4 separate regions of the Homo sapiens genome follow, and regions 1, 3 and 4 are each linked to region 2. Evidence: promoter capture Hi-C in 16 types of primary human blood cells and fetal thymus (Javierre and others, 2016). All regions are on one chromosome and are shown on one strand. The core of a region is centred on a gene start or on the middle of the fragment in contact, and the rest is flanking DNA. Distances in the headings are between cores, read along the strand shown.

The links. Contacts are between HindIII fragments. The CHiCAGO score rates a contact against its expected background, and 5 or more counts as called.
Region 1: a contact is called between a fragment that was not itself captured here and the fragment with the promoter of SH3BP5L in region 2, in 1 of 17 cell types (M0 macrophages). The highest score is 11.2, in M0 macrophages.
Region 3: a contact is called between a fragment that was not itself captured here and the fragment with the promoter of SH3BP5L in region 2, in 1 of 17 cell types (M0 macrophages). The highest score is 5.0, in M0 macrophages.
Region 4: a fragment that was not itself captured here is called in contact with the fragment with the promoter of SH3BP5L in region 2 in 1 of 17 cell types (fetal thymus); the score reaches 5.4 in fetal thymus.

The regions. Positions count from the first base shown.
Region 1 is chr1:247,457,529-247,460,898 of GRCh38, reverse strand. It overlaps OR2B11 (olfactory receptor family 2 subfamily B member 11), which reads left to right and starts at 2,795. Exons shown (of 2, transcript NM_001004492.2): 1 at 2,795-3,260. The HindIII fragment of the contact is 3,294 bases long and covers 399-3,370 here.
Region 2 is chr1:248,824,215-248,827,448 of GRCh38, reverse strand. It overlaps SH3BP5L (SH3 binding domain protein 5 like), which reads left to right and starts at 1,534. Exons shown (of 7, transcript NM_030645.3): 1 at 1,534-1,614; 2 at 2,083-2,696. The coding sequence starts at 2,514. It overlaps MIR3124 (microRNA 3124), which reads right to left and starts at 1,072; the gene lies at 1,006-1,072. RefSeq lists enhancers at 843-942, 1,013-1,062, 638-1,188, 1,173-1,432, 1,189-1,740 and 1 more. The HindIII fragment of the contact is 10,505 bases long and covers 1-2,939 here.
Region 3 is chr1:247,358,639-247,361,973 of GRCh38, reverse strand. The region is part of intron 1 of ZNF496-DT (ZNF496 divergent transcript); the gene reads right to left. Among named protein-coding and RNA genes, the nearest start is that of ZNF496-DT, 28 kb to the right of the region's middle. The HindIII fragment of the contact is 1,438 bases long and covers 817-2,254 here.
Region 4 is chr1:247,336,036-247,339,047 of GRCh38, reverse strand. All of the region lies in intron 1 of ZNF496-DT (ZNF496 divergent transcript), which reads right to left. It overlaps LOC124904574 (a long non-coding RNA gene), which reads left to right and starts at 2,312. Exons shown (of 2, transcript XR_007067004.1): 1 at 2,312-2,594; 2 at 2,884-3,012. RefSeq lists a silencer at 1,287-1,581 and an enhancer at 2,735-3,012. The HindIII fragment of the contact is 860 bases long and covers 907-1,766 here.

The DNA.
Region 1 (3,370 bases), core at 796-3,295, 1.4 Mb after region 2:
CCAGCTTGGAGTGCAATGGCATAATTTCGGCTCACTGCAACCTCCGCCTCCTGGGTTCAAGCGATTCTTCTGCCTCAGCCTCCCAAGTAGCTGGGGTTACAGGCATGTGCCACCATGCCTGGCTAATTGTTTGTATTTTTAGCAGACACGGGGTTTCTCCATGTTGGTCAGCCTGGTCTCAAACTCCCAAACAGGTGATCCACCTGCCTCAGCCTCCCAAACTGCCGGGATTACAGGTGTGAGCCACCATGCCTAGCCTGTTCCACCATTCTTAATATGTGACTTGCTTCTTTAAGATTGCTTTAAGATCAAATATGGCTGCTAGGGCGCTAGCCATCAAGACTACGTTCCATGCACAAAAATAGAGAATGGAGGATTGGCTAATATTTTTCCAAGCTTTCCCAGTAATTTTATCTCATTAGCTTCCCCTATCTGTTAGAAAGCCTGGAAAATATCATCACATCACAGAGTACCTTGCTGCATGGAGTAAAAGGGGGTGCCAACAATAAGAGTGGGAGAACAGATATTTGAAGAAAGATGATCAAGACGAGAATTAGCACAATTCCAGTGGGACCCTGTGTCAGTCTCAGTCGTGGGAGTTTCCAACTACAATTGCATCTGGGTTTTCTCAGCACAAAACTGTTTATTCCACCTTTCTTCCCCCAACTGCAGAGATATGGAAGCCTCTCCACTTCTGGAAATTATCCCAGCTGGATAACAAGACAGTGTCTAAGGCCGGGCACGGTGGCTCACACCTGTAATCCCAGCACTTTGGGAGGCCGAGGCAGGCGGATCACCTGAGGCCAGGAGTTCGAGACCAGCCTGGCCAACATAATGAAACCCCGTCTCTACTAAAAACACAAAAAATTAGCCAGGTGTGGTGGTGGGTGCCTGTAGTCCCATAGACTCGGGAGGCTGAGGCAGGAGAATCACTTGAACCCAGGAGGCAGAGGTTGCAGTGAGCCGAGATCGCACCACTGCACTCCAGCCTGGGAGACAAGAGTGAAACTCCGTCTCAAAAAAAAAAAAAGTGTCTAAGATGTCCCTGGTGCCTCATCTGGCTCTCCGTGGGAGAGAGTACAAGAGAGCATGCTTAGAATCAGGGACAGCTCCCACTTCTTCGCCAAAGCACAGTCGCCCCATCTTCTTCTGGGACATATTCTCTCCTCCCTCCATCCCCAGAAGGTAAAAATAGAGCCCTAACTCATGGCCATGACTCACCCTGTGTCCACTTAGACATCTAAAGCTAGAGAAAAAAGACGATCGAGTCAAAACCTAGAGAGGGAGAGTAACTGCACCAAGGTGCTGCTATTCACAGTGGTTCCCATAGCAGCATTTAATCACATGAATTGTAGCTCATGAATTAAAATTTGCGCTACAAGAATTCTATTTGGCCATAAAAAAAATGAAGTCATATCTTTGCTGCAATGTGGATGGAATTGGAGGACACTATCTTAAGCCAAACAACTGAGGAACAGAAAGTCAAATACCAGATGTTCTCAGTTACAAGTGGGAGCTAAATTATGTGTCCACAGGGATGCAGAGGATGGAGTAAGAGACCCTGGAGACTAGGGTGGGTAGGACGGTGTCAGGGGGTGAGGGAGGAGAAATTACGTGGGGTAAAATGTACGTTATTCGGGTGATAGTTACGCTAAATGCCCAGATTTCACCACTGCACAATATATCCGTGTAACAAAATTGCACCAGTAGCCCTTAAATTTATACAGATAAGAAAATAAAAGAATAAATAAAATAAAATGTGCACTACTTCTTGCGGCCTGTCTTAAGAAAGATTTTTTTTATCCCCTCCATGTGAAAAATATAATAGGGTGCTGAGACAATATATCAACAACAACAACAACAAAAAGCCCTCAACATGTATCACTCTGTGCCACTCATTGTTCTGAGTGCTTTACAAGAAACAATTCATTCCACCCTTGTAACAGACTGTGCAAAACAATACTAATGTTTCTTGTATTTTTAAGAAAACACAAGTGAGGCACAGATAGGTTAAGTAACCTGCTCAAAGACACATGGCATGAGTGACCGAGCCTGGTGTTGAAGCCAGTTCAGGTCTCATGCTTTACCTGAATCACACACTCTAGTTACTACTCCACTCTGATGTTACAGTAATCACCTCACCACGCACCAGCCCTAAAGAGTTCAACACACACACACACACACACCACACACCAGCCCTAAAGAGTTCAACACACACACACACACACCACGCACCAGCCCTAAAGAGTTCAACACACACACACATACACACACCATGCACCAGCCCTAAAGAGTTCAACACACACACACATACACACACCAGCCCTAAAGAGTTCAACACACACACACACACCACGCACCAGCCCTAAAGAGTTCAACACACACACACACACGCCACGCACCAGCCCTAAAGAGTTCAACACACACACACACCATGCACCAGCCCTAAAGAGTTCAACACACACACACACACCACGCACCAGCCTTAAAGAGTTCAACACACACACACACACCACGCACCAGCCCTAAAGAGTTCAACACACACACACACACACACACACACACACACACACACACAGAGTTCTTATTCCCCATTATTGATCCATTTTCTCTGGTCTTCTGGGATTTGCCATTAATTGCAAGAACTCCAAGCTCTCACACCACCTCAATTATCAGCTAACCCCTTAGACACTAATTAAATAAAGCATCAGGGATAATTTCACAGCCAGAGGAGAGCAAGTTTTTACTCTCACGTCTGGGGAGAATGAGCAGGGCCCTTATAGAAAACAGTGGAGAGAATGAGGTCAAGTTAAATCTGAGGGATAATTTTGAAATGAACAGAGAGCGTGACACGGGCAAGGTGTGTTGCCTGAAAGCCTTATCCTCGGAAGTAACCTCCACCATGTCAAGGTACCTATAGGCACTCTGGGGGACTAAGGTTAAGGCAGTTCCACCGACCTCACGTACTGCCAAGGGAGAGTCCGGGAAACCCTGAGTCTCCCCAGCAAGCCTGTTGCAACGGACAGCAGACTCCTTCTAGACTGAGAATAATCTCTCAGACTTGCTCAGAGGGTTGGGTTCCAGTAAATGGTAAGGTCCCAGCAGCCCATCAGAGGAAATGTGCTGTGTGTTCCTGGAATATGAAGAGCATTTCTAGTAAGTCCATCCTTAAATGTCCCTCCGCGACTAAGGCCAACACAGACTGCAATATAGCCTTCAGTCCTAAAGCAAGTCTTCTGTAGGAGCCAGGAACCCTGGAGGTGAGTGATTCATCCTCAACTCCAGTCAAACTGAAATCTGTACAGTGCAGTGGAGGTGCAGGATGGGCAGTATTAACACTGGGCTATGCTGGAGACCAAGGGCACATGAG
Region 2 (3,234 bases), core at 285-2,784:
ATAGCAAGCTAGGCTGGGCGTGGTGGCTCACGCCTCTAATCCTAGCACTTTGGGATGCCCAGGCGGGTGGATCACCTGAGGTCAGGAGTTCGAGACCAGCCTGGCCAACGTGGCGAAACCCCGTCTCTACTAAAAATAGAAAAATTAGCCAGATGTGTTGGCATGCACCTGTAATCCCAGCTACTCGGGAGGCTGAGGCAGGAGAATCTCTTGTACTCGGGGGTGGGGGTGGGGCGGAGGTTGCAGTGAGCCAAGATCGCGCCATTGCACTCCAGCCTGGGCAACAAGAGTTAAACTCCGTCTCAAAATAAATAAATACATAAAAAAGCACTCTAACTTCTATAGCTGCTAGCTAGCAGACACATCTGGCCGAATCGCATCTATGCCAATCAAATCTGTAATTTTTCACTTCTCCAACACTATTGAGCCCTGATCACCTTCCTTCCTTCATTCTCCCTTTGAAATGCCCAGTCACTTCTGTACAAATCGGAACAGAGGTCAGTTCTTTTCCTTTCTGTAAGTAGTTACTGAAAAAAGTCTTTTTCACTGCTTCAATGTCTAGCTGGGTTGTCTTTGACAGGATCCAAAAAGGAGGGGAATTCAGCCCATTTGCCTTTTCCATCTGCAGGGCAAAGTTTTGAGTTGACTCTGAGGAAGTTACGCCTTTTGTAAAAACAAAACATCCAACCCTGAATGAAGCCCTTCCCCTTAGGCCTAGGCCCTCCCCTCACCAAGCGACACCTAGAGGTGACAAGCAGGCGCTCGCTCAGGGACCTAGGTAACGATACACAATGCCATGTAACAAACTCCTGCTCATCGAGGGCATCTGACCCTGGGTGCACGAGTGAATTAACTGAGTTAATGTTGACTAAGTTCCTGGTTAGTATTCACGGAGCAATTGGTGACCCCACCAAAACGTCGTTCAAGGTGCAAGGTCCAGAGGCCTCGAGGAGTGGGATTTACACATCGGAGCCGTCCGCTCAGACGCCGTTAGTGGAGGGTTCCGCCGACTTCACGGGAGTGAGGAAAGTCACTTTTGGAAATCGACTTTGCCTTCGCCCGCGAAGCCCGCCAGCGTCCGGACTCGAGTTGCCCCCGGAGCCACTGCCGGAAGTTTACCAGCTCACTTTCGGCGTCGCGCCCGCCTCCGTGGAGCAGGCCGGAAGTGGCTTTCCGGCAGCCGCCGCCGCAGCTCCGTAAAGCAAGATGGCACTACTCACTCTGAGGCTATTATCTCCGTTTTATATCTAGTATTCCTCTTCTCACCAGTTACTCTCGATTTCCGTCCCGCGCCCTAATTTTCTTCAGCACCACATTCTCATGTTTTTCTTTCATTCAGCCTTGGTGGAGTATGGTCTGGAGGCAACCTACGGCTAGCCTGAGCAACGTGGGGCACCATTTTGTACGGAAACTGAAGGCAGGGCGGGGGAGTGTGAGGCCTCCCGAGGAGGCCCGGCTTGAGAGAGAGCGTGGGAGGGAGAGCGTTGTTCACCGATGATGTATTTCCGCTTCTGGTCTGCCTGGTCGTTTTTGGTTGGATCGGCTTGTTGCGGGGAGGGAGGGGGGGAGATTGTTTGCAGCATAGAAGCTCCGCGGACGGGAAGGTAAACTGAGGTAAGGCTGTGCGGGGGGCTTTTGCGCATGGCTGGGTAGAATGGACGGGAGTAGGGTCCTTGGGATTGCGGAAGAGTGTGGAATTGGAGACGGGAGGCTTAGATGTCTCGGGTTGGACAGAGAAGGTGGGGTGGGGCTCGGGGTTACAAGGTGAATCGCAAAGCCGGGCTGGGGTGGAGTGGGACGAGCGGGAGACCACAGGAGATGGAGGAGAGCCTAGGGGTGCAGAGGAAAGTCTCGAAGGCGCTGGTTGAGGAGGGCCTGGGTCGAGAGGAGCTGGGACGGGGGAAGAGTAGAATCTAAAGTCCTTGAGGGCTAAGGAGAGAAGTTGAGGTAGGGACTGGTCGGAATACATGGGTGGGGGCGTGGTGAGAGTGTAGTTTTTGGGAGGCTGTAGAGTTGGAAGGGGCTGGTGGCTGCGGTTTTGATGCTGACATGACCATATACTTGGCCTTTGTTTCTCTGCAGCTCCCCAGAGACGCTCATCCTACAGCCTCAGCTCGGGCCCAGCCTTCTCTCTCCAGCTGCCACCACAGCCTGGAGGCGCCTGCCTCCACCCTCCCGAATGGTGCTCCTCCTAGCAGGCCTCGGTCCAGGATCCAAGCCCCCTTTGCCCCCTGCCTTGGAGCTGTTGCTCCGGGTTTGTCACAGTGGACTCCCTGTGGCGGGAAGGGAAGAACTTTTGCACAGACAAGGCTTCAGCTCTAGGAACCCCACTGACAACTTGAATCTCAACCTCTAACCTAGTGTGAGGTTCTTCCTGTGCCCACCTTTTCTGCCTTTTGAGAAGAGAAACTCTTCTCCTGGCCATCTAGAGCCCAGGAAGCCCCAAGCTGGGGCCCTGGTCCCAGCATGTCAGTCCTCTCTTGTGCATAGGGCTCTGCCCTCCCCCTGTCAGCATGGCTGAGCTCAGACAGGTTCCAGGAGGGCGGGAGACCCCACAGGGGGAGCTGCGGCCTGAAGTTGTAGAGGATGAAGTCCCTAGGAGCCCAGTCGCAGAAGAGCCTGGAGGAGGTGGAAGCAGCAGCAGTGAGGCCAAATTGTCCCCAAGAGAGGAGGAAGAACTGGATCCTAGAATACAGGTGAGAGCACTGAGAGCAGGGAGAGAAGGAGAGCCCAGATTCCAGCCTCCCTGAAGAGTGTTGGATGAATGAGGGCTTAGACTTACTCTGTCCCCAGTCTGCTGGGGCAGGAAAGGAGAACAAGTTTGTCAACAAATCATTGCAGGGTAATGTAACAAGTTCCAAAAGAGTTGTGTGTCTGAAGTGCTGATGGAGTGCAGAGAAAGGCCTGGCCTTAGTGCTTGGGAGGCATTGCTGAAAGCTTCACTGAAGGAGCAAAGTGTCACTTGGCAGTAGATGGAGGAGGCACACTTTAGGTCAGTGGAGGGTAGGTGTGTTGTACTTCTTTCCAGATAAGCAGAGGGGCTGCCACCTTAGTTAGGGATGCTGTGTGAGAGGAGATGACTTTGATACTGGGGGACAGTTTTGAGGCTGAGTGAGAGAATCTTTTCCCCTTTCTCACCTTCTCAGCGGTACCTTCCAGGGATGTGCGGCCCACATTGCTCTGATAATGTGTTTCACCCTTGTAAACAGTGAGACCTTTCCAGTGTTATAAAGG
Region 3 (3,335 bases), core at 286-2,785, 1.5 Mb after region 2:
TATATATATATATATATATATATATATATAGTGCGCCCAAGCTGCCTGTTTTGGATCCCCCTGGGATTTACAAAGAAGACGGGCCACCCTAATCTAGGGCCTGGGTTCCATGCTTTCACCACCACAGCCTGGATTTGATTCCCAGTCAGGAAACCAGACTCTTGGAAATGCAAATCTTTTAACTCAGGACAAAACAAATAGAAACATTTGTAAAAAGTTAGTTTGGTATTTGCATAACTCTGACCTTTTGGGGTACCCTTTCACTTTGCAATCCTGTCTATTCCCACAGACAGCTTTTGACTTCCCATCTTACAAACTGCCATGCAATCTTCCGTCTGTGGGAGATACGGGTTGTCAGGCCTTTGTGTGCAGTCAGCCAGCTGAGAGGCTGAAACCCTAGATAATATGGCCAGACAGTAGCCCCATTTGCAGCTACTAAAATTCTCCTTTATTTGAGCTGCCTGGAGTGGTCTGGATCTGAGCAGGGTTGCAACTTTTGCCTCCTCTCTGGAGACCTTGGTGAAAGCCGTGAAAGGCTTCTTGGTTCTGGTCTCCTTGGTGCTTATTTCACTTGGCGTTGAGTCATTTGTTCAGGTATACCTTTGATAGAAAACTGGTTTGTATTTAGAGTGTGATAGCAACTTTTTTCTTTTGTCTCGCTTCCTCCCGTGGGCAGAAGAGACGTGTGTCTCCCACCACTGCTGGGAAGCTGAAGAGAGGCAGGGCTCCTCCCATGAGCAGAGCGGGTGGGAGCGCTCCACAGCCGAAATTCTTTCCACTCCAGTGTTAGGCCACGTGCTCATGAAACAGAAAGCTTGCTGCTTGTGTATTTTCAACACACCCTTCTGCTTTTTCTTTTTTCTTTTAGTTTTTGGGGGATTTTTCCCTGGCAGATATATAGAGCAATGCTTTTTCTCTTTGGATCCTGTTCCTACCCTGGGAATTCTTTTCAGTCAACTGAAATTTTGTTAAAAAGCAATTTTATGTTCCTTCCATCTGTTCACTTTTTTGTTGTTGTTGTTGTCGGCATGATTTTTACTGAGAAAAATGTAAAACATCCTTGGCCTTTTTGGGAAGTTTAAAATCTTCCCAAATTGAGCCCTCTAAGAATTGTTTTCCCATTTACTGTTGGCCCTTCTTCCTTTCTGCCACCTTCAATAACACACGAAGAAATCAAGAGGGAACTTCTAGCAGTCCTGAGACCCCTTGAGAAACCAGAAAAAGGTGCCATACACCCTCCTTTTGGGGGTCTTTTGTCTTCCTCACGGAGCCCCAAGGGTCATGGGCAGGTTACTCTCAAGTCTAAAGCGCCGCAGTCTTTTGCATTGAGTTCCCTGATATTTTCATTTTTTTGAGACACAGTCTGTCTCTGTCACCTAGGCAGGGGTGCAGTGGTGCATTTGTGAGAAACACACTCACCCATCCAAACCCAAAGAATGGACTTAGAGGCACAAAGAACAGCGAAAGGGAGACTTTTCATAACGGTCTTGCGAGATCGGGTGTCTGGTGAGCAGGCACAACCAGGGCGGTCACAACGGGTAATTTATGTCCTAGCACACAAGTCCCTCCCCCAGTTCCTCACTGGTTGAGTACTGTGGGGTTACAATCTTCCCGGACATCGCCTAACTTTCATTATCCCCCTTACAAAGTTATACCCCGTCCTCTTCCCCACTTAAGTTTTGATTTCCCCATAACAAAACTTTCTTCCCTTTTATGAGCTGACCACACCTCTACATTCTGTCCACTTACTGTGACCTTCTGGGTGCATGAGCCATGTGGTTTCTTACATTTGCAGGCTGGCTGCCAGTGCTTAGACTTATCATGCCTTGCAAATGGACCATTTAAAAGGTTTTCTCACCAATTCCCTCCTCTTTTCTATTTACTTATTTTGTTCTCATTTTCTTTTAAACCCTTTTGGGCCGTGAATCGCTCCAGAAGTTGTTTACTTTCTTCCTCATAGGAGAGTGAGTTTAATTTGCTTTCTAATAGTGGCAGGTTATTTTGCTGGTAAGTCATGGGCATTTGTTTATTAATAGCTGTTTTAATTAATTTCTGTGCTAGTCCCCTCACACAAGGGATAATACAACATTCCACTGCTATTAAGAATCCTGCCACAATTATGAGAGATATAAGGATTGAAGCTACCATTCCTTTCCATTTTCCAAATCAGCCTTCTAGCCAACCCGTAAATGGGTCATTAATTCCGAGCATTTCTTCCAGTTCGTTGGCTAGAGTTGTTAGTCCTTGTAAAGCTTTTGTGATGGTCCCATTTGGGGCAGTATTGCTGGGAATGAAAGTACAAAATTTCCCGCCCAGCATAACACACACGCTCCCTTTTTCTCTAGTATCATGTCTAGCGCAAGTCTGTTTTCCCAGGCCATTTAGCTGGTGGCATCTAACTGGCTAGCCACCCTTTGAGGGCATCCCAAGTATAATTGATGAATTCCTGTTGATTATAATAGATGGAGTTAATTTAATTCGCATTCTTCTTAATAGTTGACCAGCAGAAGTGTCCTGACTTTAAACCCAGCACCTACTGCGTTTCAGGCCTTCAATTTATTAGGCAACCCTACCCCCACCAGGGTCTCCTATTGAGTCAACATACACATTGGGATTAAAAGAATTTGTGAAATCTCTCTGGTTTCAGTGGCCATGTGTATTTTGGGGTATCTTATGGGATGCCAGGGTGAAGGGAATGGCCAATGAGACTAAAGCACAAGTCCTGGTCCCATTGGACAGTAACAGGTTACGTAGGTTCCTTTTCCCATAATACTACCAGACATCAGCCCGGGGTGTATGGAGAGCTGAGTAATTGCCATTGCTCAACTCACCAGTGACGTTTAGGATGTGGGTACAAGTTGAGAGTTCTCCCATAGGCTTATGGAACTCTGCCCCCTGTCTAGAGAGGCAAGAGGAGTAGTTCATGTTCTCTGCAGAGAACGAGGGTATTGCTCTGGGATCTGAGCTCCGCAATGCAGGAAACAGCAATGAAAGACTCTTACAAGTCTTACTTCTCCTTACTTATATCATTGTGCTGGTATGCAGCCAACATGCAACACATTCCTCTAGAATCACTATTCCATCCCAGGGGAAACGGAACCACCTGCGCCTGAGGTGGTCCTGCAGCACACGCGTAGCAGTTACTTTTGCTGAGGGCTTGTACCGAAAATATGACCCATTTGACCCAGGCATTCACATCCCTATACCCTGTCTCAATTTCTAAGGTTTGCCTTAAATCCTTTACCTCAATTATTGTTACCATTTTAGGGTTAATATTTGGTAGACTAAAGTGTTTATTAGGGTCTGGGGTTGGAGTAGTTCCAGGCAAATGGGAG
Region 4 (3,012 bases), core at 87-2,586, 1.5 Mb after region 2:
GAGGAGTTTACTCTGGTATTTACTCACCCAAGAACCAATCACCCCATTTGAGGCCTGCAGCAAACCCTTCTTTTCTGGAAGGCAGAGTCCAAACACTACTCAGGGCTCCAACTTCCCGGGATGGTGGTGAGAATTAGGCAATACAATGCAGATAATATACCTAGCAAATGCTGAACATATTCCGTACAAAGTCTACTTCCCCATCCCTCCCTCATTCAGACACACACACATACCCCTGTAACACTGGGTCCCTGACCACTATCCTCTTTCTCTGAACATCAGTTTCCCTCCTGAAATTCCAAGGATGCTAGGATTCAATGCATTTAAGGAGCAGACAACAAAGACGATCACAAAGGATCAAACTCACATTCATGGAAACATCTGCGGAACTGTAACATCAAGGCGTTTCCCTCCTAAGAGCATCAAAACCTCTCCAGGCTGGGCGCGGTGGCTCACGCCTGTAATCCCAGCACTTTGGGAGGCCAAGGCAGGTGGATCACGAGGTCAGGAGTTCAAGACCAGCCTGACCAACATGGTGATACCTCGTCTCTACTAAAAATACAAAAATTAATCAGGCGTTGTGGTGGGCACCTGTAATCCCAGCTACTCAGGAGGCTGAGGCAGAAGAATCGCTTGAACCCAGGAGGCAGAGGTTGCAGTGAGCCGAGATGGCGCCACCGCACTCCAGCCTGGGGACAGAGCGAGACTCTCTCAAAACAACAACAACAACAGCAACAAAAACAAAAAAAAACCTCTCCAGGAGCGAATGTGAGAAAATCTACAAGATCTGTAAGGACTGAGAAAAGAGAACAGGCAGCCCTGCCTTTCATCAGGCTAAGAAGACAGACGAGTAACCCACTGTGCATTCACAGGACACGTGGTTTTCCCCAAGGTCTTGCCAAAGCTTCGAAACGCCACAACGCCCGCTTGACAGATGGACTCCTGCTTTCTAACCAAGAACGCCCTAGACCCACTTGCTGCACTCATTTATGACTGGGGGAACGCAACAACCAAGGCATCCTTGCCTCCTGACGGCCCATCACCCTCAGTGAACCCCTACTTCTTCTGAGCCCCCCTCTAAACAACAACCAGTGCAGATGCGACTCCCACTTCCCTGATACATTATCAATTATTAAAACTTCATACTTCCATGAGGCCTCAGTATCACACACAGGCTGTGAGTCCCCCAAGCAACTAGGCACACTGGTGTGATAAGCCTGGTCTCTGCCTCCAGGTCCCCTTCTTGCCTTCCCCCGACTGTGACCCAGCGACATTCCAATGCACCAGTAAAATCCCCTCATACCTTCTGCTTGTGTGCCCCACCCTGACCCCCCGACACAGGTACTTGCCCACGGGTTCTCTCTCTTTCTCGACCCCCCACCTGCACTGCAGAGCCTGGGCCCTTGGCTCTCATCCAACACGGCCCTGCACGCATGCGGTGCCTCCCTCTCCAGGACCTTGGAGCAGCATAAATCCTGTACTTTCATATCATTCTTGGACTGTAATTGCTGCAGCCACTTGGGAGTGATTCTTAAAGATCCCACAAGGGAGACTTACTCCCACACTTACATCACACCTGACATCATCCTCCTCCTCCCCTCCCCCTCTTCCTCCTTCTCCTCCTCCATCCGGAGCAAACCTCGCAAAAATACTTCTCCCATTATCAAGCCATATTCCAGCCTCCTCTGGGTGCCCTCCCCCGCTCACTGAATCAAGACGATAAATCTGGTCATTTCTGCAAATCTGAATTTGTCAAGGCACAAGCTTGTCCCTGATGGTCCAGCTGAATAAACATGAACAACCCAATGCTCAAGAATAGCTCCAAATACCAATGTTTGGGGTCTTTATTTTCTTGACTGTAGCATCCAACGCTGATTTCCAGGAAAAAGATGTCATCTCTTTAGTGACAACTTGGCCACTTAAAAGAGGTACTTTCACTGGAGCCCCTGAGAGTGGGTTATGTCAGCCTACCTGCAAATCTCAAAGTGTTTTTGCTTTCAAAAAAAGAAAAAATAAAATAGATGAACAGGCCTCTGTGACAGCTGGGAGGCCTCTATAGTGAGAAAATGTCATCATGCAAAGCTGTTTCACTGAGCAGCTTCTCACTGACCCCTTTCCACAGGCCACAATAAGGGACCAGATTAATGCCTTGCTGTCCATGCCCCCTAGATGTCTGTGACTAACACAGTAAGAACTAGCACTACTATTCCTAGGACTGTTCCTAAAGCCACAGTTTATTGAGTATCTACTATGCCCAGCTTACAACAGAGCTTCTCACATTGCAAAAAGCATGCAAGTCCCTGGTGCCTGGTTAGCCGCGCAAGCTGTGGTTGGGGCCTGTGGGTACTGACAGCTCCCAGAGAAGGCAGGTGTGGTTGGTCCAGTGATGGGGCTTCACATATTTGCACACCTGTATTTGTCATCAGTCTACAAGCATATTATGCGGAATGATGACCTCCTCTGCAGGGGGTGATGTCACAGTGGAACGGCTGCCCACCTGGGGGGCGATGTCACAGTGGAACGGCTGCCCACCTGCAAAGCACTGGGGCTTTAGGTTACACATCACATTTCCTTGTGCACACTTCACTTTCCAGGTTATATATAATTCACCCTTTCCTTTGTTATCGTCCATTCACCTTTCCACTCTGCAAGATGGCCGTCTCACGCCCTCTTCCTCCTGCTCTCACATTTCACCCTCTCTTTCTCCCTGTCACTTAAGGGCCCTGTGTAGCAGTCAGGGTTCTCCAGAGAAACGGAACAAATAGCATGTGGAGTGGGGGGAGGGAAGGGGGTGGGGATAGAGAGCTAGAGATCAATAGAGAGAGATGAGGGAGACTGTTTTCTTTTAAGGAACTGATTGGCTTGCAAGTCTAAAATCTGCAGGGCAGGCTGCAGATCCAGAAAGCCGAAGCTGCAGCAAGTCGGAAGGCGCGCCGCAGGGGGAGTTCCTTCCTCAGGAGACTGCAGTCTTTGCTCTTACGGCCTTCGACAGATTGGATGAAGCCCGCCCAC